Linked DNA regions of Homo sapiens: region 1 is linked to region 2. Evidence: promoter capture Hi-C in 16 types of primary human blood cells and fetal thymus (Javierre and others, 2016). All regions are on one chromosome and are shown on one strand. The core of a region is centred on a gene start or on the middle of the fragment in contact, and the rest is flanking DNA. Distances in the headings are between cores, read along the strand shown.

Region 1 (4,295 bases), core at 891-3,390, 120 kb before region 2:
TGTCTCTCGAGAAGACCCATTTGGTTAAATCAGACATAGCGCTTGCCCATGCACGTGGAGTGTTACAAACACTTTATGCACTAGATATGATCCCGGAATGTGATGTATACATTTTGTTGTAATTTTTAATTGTTTGAAAGGTATAAAAATATTTTCTTATTCATAGGAATCATAAAGCTAAGACTTGTGAAGTACAAAATATTTACCTTATACTTAATTATTTTTTATCAGAATTTTCACAGAATATGTTTACTGAAATTGAAGTGCATGCATACTTTGTGTGCCAGGAAAAAAGTAGAATGAAAACTGCGTTGTGTCTGTAACTCAGAAGCATGATATTCCAAAGTTGGGGCAGAACAACCCATTCTTGCTGATAACCTCAGTCAGGTAGATTATTAGAGATCCAGATAGTTCCTGTAATTATATAGAGTGAAGTACATCTTGAACTAGTGATGTCATTTTTAAGTTGGGAGAACAATTATACATCAGTTTTAAGATATATTTATTTGTAGAATGTGTTTGAAAGTAAAAATGGCAATTGATTTAGACCTTTTGGAAGTCTGACTTTTTTCTGTGCCTATTTCATTTCAGCTTCCCCGAGGCCAGAGATTTCCCGAGACATATCATCATGTCTTACATTCACTGCTTCTTGCAATAATTCCCCATGTGACTATTCGGTATGCGGAGATTCCCGATGAGTCCAGAAATGTGAACTATAGTTTGGCTAGCTTCCTGAAGGTGAGTTCAAGGCAGCTAGAATGTGGTAAGGAACTCCTCTTCATTGATAGGAAGCCCAAGAAAAAAATTAAGCACTTTCTAGAGGCTCAGCTAGGTCTTCATAAGACTGTTGGAAAACTTAGGTTGCTTACAAACGTTGGCTATTGTGAACAGTGCTGCAACAAACATGGGAGTGTAGATATCTCTTTGATGCACTGATTTTCTTCCTTTTGGGTATACATCTAAGAGTAGAATGTTGGATCGTATGGTAGCTCTATTTTCAGTTATTTGAGAAACCTCCATAGAAGACATTGGCATTGGCTTGTGTTCTATATGGCGATTCAAAAATGTGAGAGGCTGGCCAGGCACAGTAGCTCACACCTGTAATCCCAGCACTTTGGGAGGCCGAGGTGGGCGGATCACATGAGGTCAGGAGTTCGAGACCAACCTGGCCAACATGGTGAAACCCCGTCTCTACCAAAAATACAAAAATCAGCTGGGTGTGGTGGCAGGCACCTGTAATCCCAGCTACTTGGGAGGCTGAGGCAGGAGAATCCCTTGAACCTGGGAGGTGGAGGTTTCAGTGAGCCGAAATCACACCACTGCACTCCAGCCTGGGCAATAGAGTAAGACTCCATCTCAAAACAAAACAAGAAAAGATGTGAGAAGCTACCTTAGTAGTCAAATTTAACTATATATACAAGATAAAGGTGATAACAATAATACCAGAAATACAAACAAATCTGTTCTTGATAGTGATTGTACTAATTTACATTCTCACCAATAGGGAAGGAAGGTTCCCTTTTCTCCACATCCTCACCAACACTTGTTATTGCCTCTTTTGGATAAAAGCTGTATATTTTAGCTTACCTGATCACAACAAATTTGTCCCCATCCCCCAATGAAATGACAAATAATTAAATCAGAGGACACATACAGGTGGCCTAGTCAGAAGACAAGTGTTGCTTGTTGTACACAGTGTTTTTAAGCATAGTTTGAATGCTTATTTAAATGGGAGCACATACTTTCTAGGTTGCCACCATCCCTACCACTCCTTATTACAGCCCTGAGCCTCCTCATTCATTTAAATCGTTTCTCTGACCCCGTTGGCTTTTGACTTTGCAACTTTTGGACTAAAGCAACCTGTTTGGTGATGTAACCACAGTGTACATGTTGCTAATACGTGTAAATGTAAATTGTTAGTGTTGATCAGTGAGGTTATTTTATTTGGGATATACCAGAAGAAAACTATATTTATGAAAGATGGCAAACTACCATCATTAGGTTTTGTTATTGTCAGTATGTAAGTGGCAGTGAGAGAATGTAACTGTTTTTTCTTTCTTTTTTCTTGCTTTCTTTCATTTTTTTTTAATTTGAGACAGAGTCTCGCTCTGTCACCCAGGCTGGAGTGCACTGGTGCGATCTCAGCTCACTGCAACCTCCGCCTCTTGGGTTCAACTGATTCTCATGTCTCAGCCTCCCAAGTAGCTGGGATTACAGGCATGCATCACCATGCCCAGTATTTTTAGTAGAGACAGGGGTTTGCCATGTTGGCCTGGCTGGTCTTGAACTCCTGACTTCAAGTGATCTGCCCCTCTTGGCCTGAATGTAACTGTGATAAAGTGGGTAACAACAATATTTGATGTGTGGCAGAGACAAGCGTGGGTTGCAAATGCACCTAGTTTTTACTTGCCTCTTTCCATTCTCCCTCTCTTCATTTCTCAAAGCTCTTCATTACTCTCAAAACTCTTCATATTAAGAACCTTGTGGGCAGCAATTCATCCAAGGAGTTTTAGTTTCTAACATATCCTCATTGTTAATTAAAAATTCACAACTAGGTTTCACACATCTTGAGTATGATTTTCTGACATAAGACTTCTCTTTGCCAGAATTAAAATAAAGTTTTAACCCTATTACACTAGCCTTTTTTGTGTATTAAAAAAGCCAACATCCACATATCTTTTTAAAATAAACTACGAATTAGATTATCTGAAATGTAGAATATTAGCTTCTTCCATGGAGTTTAAAGTTGAAGTTTACTATGTAAAGGGAATAGAACATTTTTGGTTTAGTAGCAGTATTTACTTAATTCAAGTCAGCAAACATTGGCTTGACTTCTGTGTGGCAATTCAAAGATGTGAGAGGCCGTGTTAGTAGTCAAATTTGAATATATATACAAGATAAAGGTGATAACAGTAATACCAGAAATACAGACAAAATACTATAGAAAAACTAGAAAGGGAGAGAGAGATTATGACCAGGCAGCATGAAACAAGTAACATAGTGCAGAGTTCCCCAAGACAAGAGTTGAGCATGTTGCAGTTAGAGGGTCCCTGAACAAAGATGAAATATGCATGTTCAAAAATTGTTCAGGGACGAGTGAAAAGTCGTGTGATGAGTTTAGGATGTATGGAGAAAGAGCTGGAAAGGCCATCTGGTGCCAATAATGAAAGGCCTTGAATGTCAGGTTAAGGAATTTGGACTTTGATTCATATGCAATGGAGTAACACCAAATACTTGGGAGGATACTTTTCTTGCTGGTATGATAGATGAAGTGAGGAAGAGACTCGAGTCAGGGCAACCGATTAGAAAACCAATCATCCGCGTGGCACAATCCACTTATCTTTTAGGCTCAGCTCTTCCCTGGCCTTTCCATGCAGTGTTGATCACCCCTTCTGTTGTTCACCTGTCTTTTACATAGCTCTGTGGCACTGTTATTGTGCACTATCTTTTCATTATTTGTTTGTCTTCACTATTAGACATGATTATGGACCATGCCTTATTCCACTTTGTATTTCTCTAGAATGTAGTACATTGTCTCAAACATAGTAGATCCTCTAAATGTTTGTTGGATGCTGGAATAAATAAATATGAGCCTCACTCAGTAATCCAGATGAGAGGTGATGAGGGTCTTACCCTGGGCAGTGGCAGCAGAAGTATAAAGGAGAGTATGAGATGCAAGATGCAGGTAGCTGGTTAATCAAATATTGAATTCTTCGGATTTCACAGAAATATTCTAGGCACTATGAAGGATATAAAGGAAAAGATCATTCTTATTGTCCAATCTAGGTGAGACGACAGGAAAACAGTCAGTAAAATACAAGCTAATACTGAAATAAAGTGTTTAAAAGGATCCATGGACCAATGTAGTTAAGGAAGATGGGATTTCATGAGAACCTTAAAGAATGAATAAGACCAGATAGAAGTAGCGAAAGAATTGCTAGGTGTGGCATAAGCCAAAGACTTAGAGGTGGGAATACACAGTGCATCTCGAGGGGATAATAAGTGAATGATGGCTGAGCATGCTGGTGCCCGCCTTAGTCTCAGCTACTTGGGAGACAGGCAGGAGGATTGTTTAAGGCTGTAGTGCGCTATGACTGTGCTACCACACTCCAGCCTGAGTGACAGAGCAAGACTCTGCCTGTCTCTCTCTCTCTCTCTTTTTTTCTGTTTTGAGACAGAGTCAAAGAAAGTCAATGAGATCTATTGGCAAATGAAGCTGGACAAGTAAGTTGGGAAAAGACTATGAGTGTTCTTGAATGGCAAGCTAAGGAATTTGAAATTGTATTAGAGACAAT
Region 2 (4,637 bases), core at 1,783-4,282:
CCCTGTTTTCAACTTCTCCTTTTTCTTTGTTTTGCAGTGGTGTGAGGTTTTGCTTAGAGGACTCTTTGTGAGATTTTTGTCTAAGGGACCAGCACTTTTAGCTAAGCCCTTGGAATATGCTGGTGTCTGTGTCCCTTTTGGACTCAGGAAGGTGTCTCTAAATGGATGGAAGGACACCTGACTTTGGAAAGAGGGACATCATTCTTTCCTGCCAGACATTTTCTTGCATATGCCCTTTTCAGCCTCCAGTTACAGAAATGGACGAAGACTTAGTGAGAAGGGCAAAGGTCAAAACAGTTGAGTGGAGTGGCCTAGGTACACAGGGCAGCGCAGAACTCCAGCCACCCCGGGCCAAAGTGAAAGAAAGGCCACTGGTAGTCTCGCACCCAAGTCATCAGGACTCTAAGGGTTAAACTTGATGTTGACTCATCATGATTTTGATTTACACAAAGCCAAACTGAAAGCTCCTTGTCTACTGCAGTTCCTGGAAAGCCTTCTATCTGTCTTCATTCTTCCTGCAGACCAGGGCAGTGGCCTGATTCAATCCAAGACGCTCTTCGAATCACACTACACGGAGATTACAAATACAAGTTTTATGTTGAAGAAACAGCATTCCTGACTCTTTCCACCCCCTTCCAAAAATTTGAAAAATCGTTGCATGATGTTCAGGGTCGGGAAGAAAGGAAAGTAACAATATAGTCTTAAGGCCAGCAGGCCGGAACTATCTTGGTGAAAAGAAATCAGGTCTCTCCCCTCTCCACACTGCCGTTTGTTTTTTTTCCTCACGATGTTCAGATTCTCAGGGCTTTTCTGGAAGCTCATGACAAGCTGCAATCCCTATTTTTCTAATCATTTGCTACCATTACTGTTTTATTAAGCGCTTGGTCAATCTATGCCAAGCAGTGCCCATGATGGCACTCAGCCAGTCCCCAGGGGCTCCTGTTCCAACTAAAGACTCCTTAAAAGGCAGATGACATAACCATTTTGGAAACGTTATTATAAACTTATTGTATAATGTTTATAGCAAATGTCAACAAGTGTATATGTCCGTGGTGGTGGAGGAAAGGCCTTGGGATACACAGTGGCTGACCTATTTGTGGGAGGGATTTAGAAATAATGATACTATCTCTCAGTTCTACAGGCCTTGATACTTTACAAACTGTTTTCATAAACATTATTTTGTTCGATAACACATGCAAGCCAGGATTTATTTTTTTTTTTTTTGAGAACGGGGTCTCACTCTGTTACAGACCCAGGCTGGTTTTGAACTCCTGGGCTCAGGTGATCCTTCCACCTCAGCCTCCAGAATAGCTGGGATTACAGGTGCATGCCACCATGCCTGGATTCTGGAATTTATTCTGAACCGTTAGCCAAAAGAATCAACATCCTGAGATTCAGCACAGGCAGGCCCTCCTCCTGGAAGCTTCCCTTGCTCCTTCCCTCCCAAAAGGTACCCTTTTTGTATCCCATAATTCCTTGTTCTTGCCCTTATCATTGCCCCTCAGACTGACTGCAGCTTTCTGTTAGCAGAGCTTGCTTTTGGTGAGTGTCTTCAACAGTTCCTGGAACAATTTCATAAATATTTATTGAGTTTGAGAGCCTTAATTCCAAGAGTGGAACCTTTGTTGTGAATAGGTTAAACAACCCTGTGCCCTTTGGGTGGGGTCTAGACTAGGTATATTATCAGCATTTTTATTGCTATACTTTTTGTAACTGTTTTCAGGTATATGCATTGGCTTAATTCGGCCAAAATACACCTCATTATGGGTCTCATCATCCACCTAGACATGATTCTTTTTTGGGAGAAGGTGATAGAATAATGTCCCCCTCCCATGATTCCATATCGTGATCCCCAACACCTGTGAATATGTTAACTTACATAGCAAAAATGACTTTTCAGTTATGATTAAATCAAGGATTTTGAGATGGGGAGATTATTATGAATTATCTGGTGGACCTAATCTAATCACAAGGGTATTTATAAGGGAAAAGGGGAAGTAAGAGGGTCAGAGTCAGATACGACAAGGGAAGCAGAGGTCTGAGTAGTTCCGCAACAAGCCAAGGAATGTGGGTAGCCTCTAGAAGCTGGAAAAGTCAAAGACACAGATTCTCCCCTAGAATATCCAGAAGGAATACATCTCTGCCCACACCTTGATTTAAGCTCAGTGTCACTTCTGACCTCCAGAACTGTAATAAAATAAAACTGTTAAATCACTAAATTTGTGGTCATTTTTGACAGCAGCAACAGGAAACGCCTAAGGACTCTTGTTTTCCTTCCTCCCAGCCTCACTGACCCTCATAGGCGCCCAAGTATCAATGTGTATTCTTCCGATTCACCTCCCATCCCTTTGAAAAATATGTAGAAAGTTTGTCGTGTGCTTTAAAAAATGCACGTATGGTATCCTCCCTCATGTTTGGAATGTTCCTTTTAAAATCAACATTATGTATTGCCAGCTTTCAAATATGCCCTTTGTCCTTTTCACAAAGCACAGTACTGCCAGTGTCCCCAACTCCACCCAGTGAAGTAGGGCTGGTATTACTAACCCTGGAGTCAGCGCTAGCAAACAAGGGCTCAGAGGTCAAGGGCTGGAAGCCAGGTCTCCAGACTCCCAGGCCAAGGCTCTTTTCCGCAGATGACTCTGTCCTGGTGTCCAGCAGGGCACAGCCCCTAGCACCTCCGAGGCCCCGCAAGTGTGCTGGCAGCGGCGACGCCGGCTCCGCCACGCGGAGGGAGGAGGCCCAGGCAGCGCCCGGAGTGGGCGGCGACGTGGTGGAAGAAGTTTTGTTCGGTCAGAGACCGGACGCGGGAGCTGCGGGTGGGCCAGGTGTCCAGCCTTGGGAGCCGTAGGAGCCGCCAGAGCCGCCAGAGCCGCCGGCGCCCCGCCCCGCCTCCTCCGGCCGCTCTCGCCGGCTCAGGTTACCTGAGGCCGGTGGGCGGGGCGGCCCTTCCCGTCTGCGCCGGCCCCCAGCCTCCAGGGCGGCGGAGCCGGGAAGTGGAAGAGGGAGCGAAGGAGGCGGGGACTGCCAAGGCTCCAGCCCGGCCGGGCTCCGAGGCGAGAGGCTGCATGGAGTGGCCGGCGCGGCTCTGCGGGCTGTGGGCGCTGCTGCTCTGCGCCGGCGGCGGGGGCGGGGGCGGGGGCGCCGCGCCTACGGGTGAGTGCGACCCTCGGGGCCCGAGGGGCGGCCGGAGGGCTGAGGGCGGTGAGGGTCACGGCTGAAAGGCCCCGGAGGTCAACGCCGGGCGGAGGGCCGAAGCTGGGGTGGGTGCTGGGGGCTGCCCTCGCGAGGCCCCGCGCTCGGCGGCTGCGGCTTCCCGCGCGGGATCTCTGGGGCCCGGTACTGGGGCCGGTTCGAGGTGGGACCCGGGAGCTGCGGGGTTTTCCCGAACTCCGGGTGCGGCGGAGGTGGCGGCAGCGAAGTAAGAGGGCTGCGACTTGTAGTGGGAAGAGCCCAGGAGGCTGGCGTCCAGGCGTGCGGGGGCGGGGGGCCCGAAACATGCCCACGGCGTCAGAGGGCCGTGGGTCAGCGCCCGGAATGTCGCCTGTGAGCCCGGGAGGAAATGAGGCGCCAGAGCCGGCGGGGACCACGACCGAAGTCCAGGCGAGCTGAGAACGCGCCGGGGCTCTTTGCCCGAGGCCGCGCCAATCCTCACTGTCTAAGGGTGGCTCTTGCGAGTGGAAGTTGAAGGGAACCTCTAAACATCTCAGTCCTTGTTGAAAAAGGACGTGACGCTCATGACCTCCTCTGGCGTCGAAGAAATCCTTTGGGAAATCCAGAATAGCATCCCGGCAGATGCTCCCCCCACCCCACTCTCTTTAATAAACCTTATATTTTAGGGTAATTGTAGATTTATGGAAAAGTTGCAAAGATACTTCAGAGAGTTGTGTATATCCCTCACCCTGTTTGGTAACTTCTAGTTAATCAACCTGGCAGTTGTGAAAAATTGGGAGTTAATGACTTCCTTAGGAGCAGCTCCTGGAAGGAATGGCCTTCTGGACGTTTTTGGTGACAATGAAAGCCCCAAACTGTATAGGTTTTATTATCACATTGACACAAACACTTATATATGCTTATTGCATTTTTACCAATGTGCTTTGAAATCCAAGTTGAAATGTTGATTAGGAAACCTTAATGCCCTCTATGGATTCAGTCAATAAAATACATGCTGCCAGGCAGTGTTTAGGGGCTGAGGATGCAGCAGTGAGCAAAACAGATGAGGTGCCTGCCCTCAGACATATCGGGGGGTGGGGGTAAAATATATGATATGTCTGAGGGTGTTAAGTAGAGAAAAACAGAGCAGGTGGGAAGGGGTTTGCCATTGTAAAAAGGGTGGATCGAGAAGAAAACAAATGTTGCTGAAAGGTGGCATTTGAGTAGAGACCTGAGGGAGACTTGAAGCTTGTCAGTCAATAATTATTCAGGTGTCTGCCTTATTTAGTACTGAGTCAGGCCCTCTAGGTTGACTTAGAACCTGAGAGTGTATAGCAAAATTCTTGCCCCAAAAGGGCCTCTAGTTTAGTTGGGTACACCTGATTTCCGTAATCATATGGGGACATTGCAGTCCAGAGAAGGGAAGGAACTTGTCTAAAGTTACCCGTCTCATTAGTCTCCTGATTTTCACAGTGCCACTCCAGCAC

Evidence for each region. The method cuts DNA at HindIII sites, captures the fragments that hold promoters and counts their contacts. A CHiCAGO score of 5 or more calls a contact.
Region 1: a fragment that was not itself captured here is called in contact with the fragment with the promoter of IL13RA1 in region 2 in 2 of 17 cell types (monocytes and neutrophils); the score reaches 8.5 in monocytes.

The regions. Positions count from the first base shown.
Region 1 is chrX:118,609,681-118,613,975 of GRCh38, forward strand. It overlaps DOCK11 (dedicator of cytokinesis 11), which reads left to right. Exons shown (of 53, transcript NM_144658.4): 28 at 592-738. Among named protein-coding and RNA genes, the nearest start is that of IL13RA1, 120 kb to the right of the region's middle. The HindIII fragment of the contact is 4,338 bases long and covers 1-4,295 here.
Region 2 is chrX:118,724,574-118,729,210 of GRCh38, forward strand. IL13RA1 (interleukin 13 receptor subunit alpha 1) reads left to right here and starts at 3,033. Exons shown (of 11, transcript NM_001560.3): 1 at 3,033-3,153. The coding sequence starts at 3,066. RefSeq lists a silencer at 2,642-3,071. The HindIII fragment of the contact is 2,975 bases long and covers 1,422-4,396 here.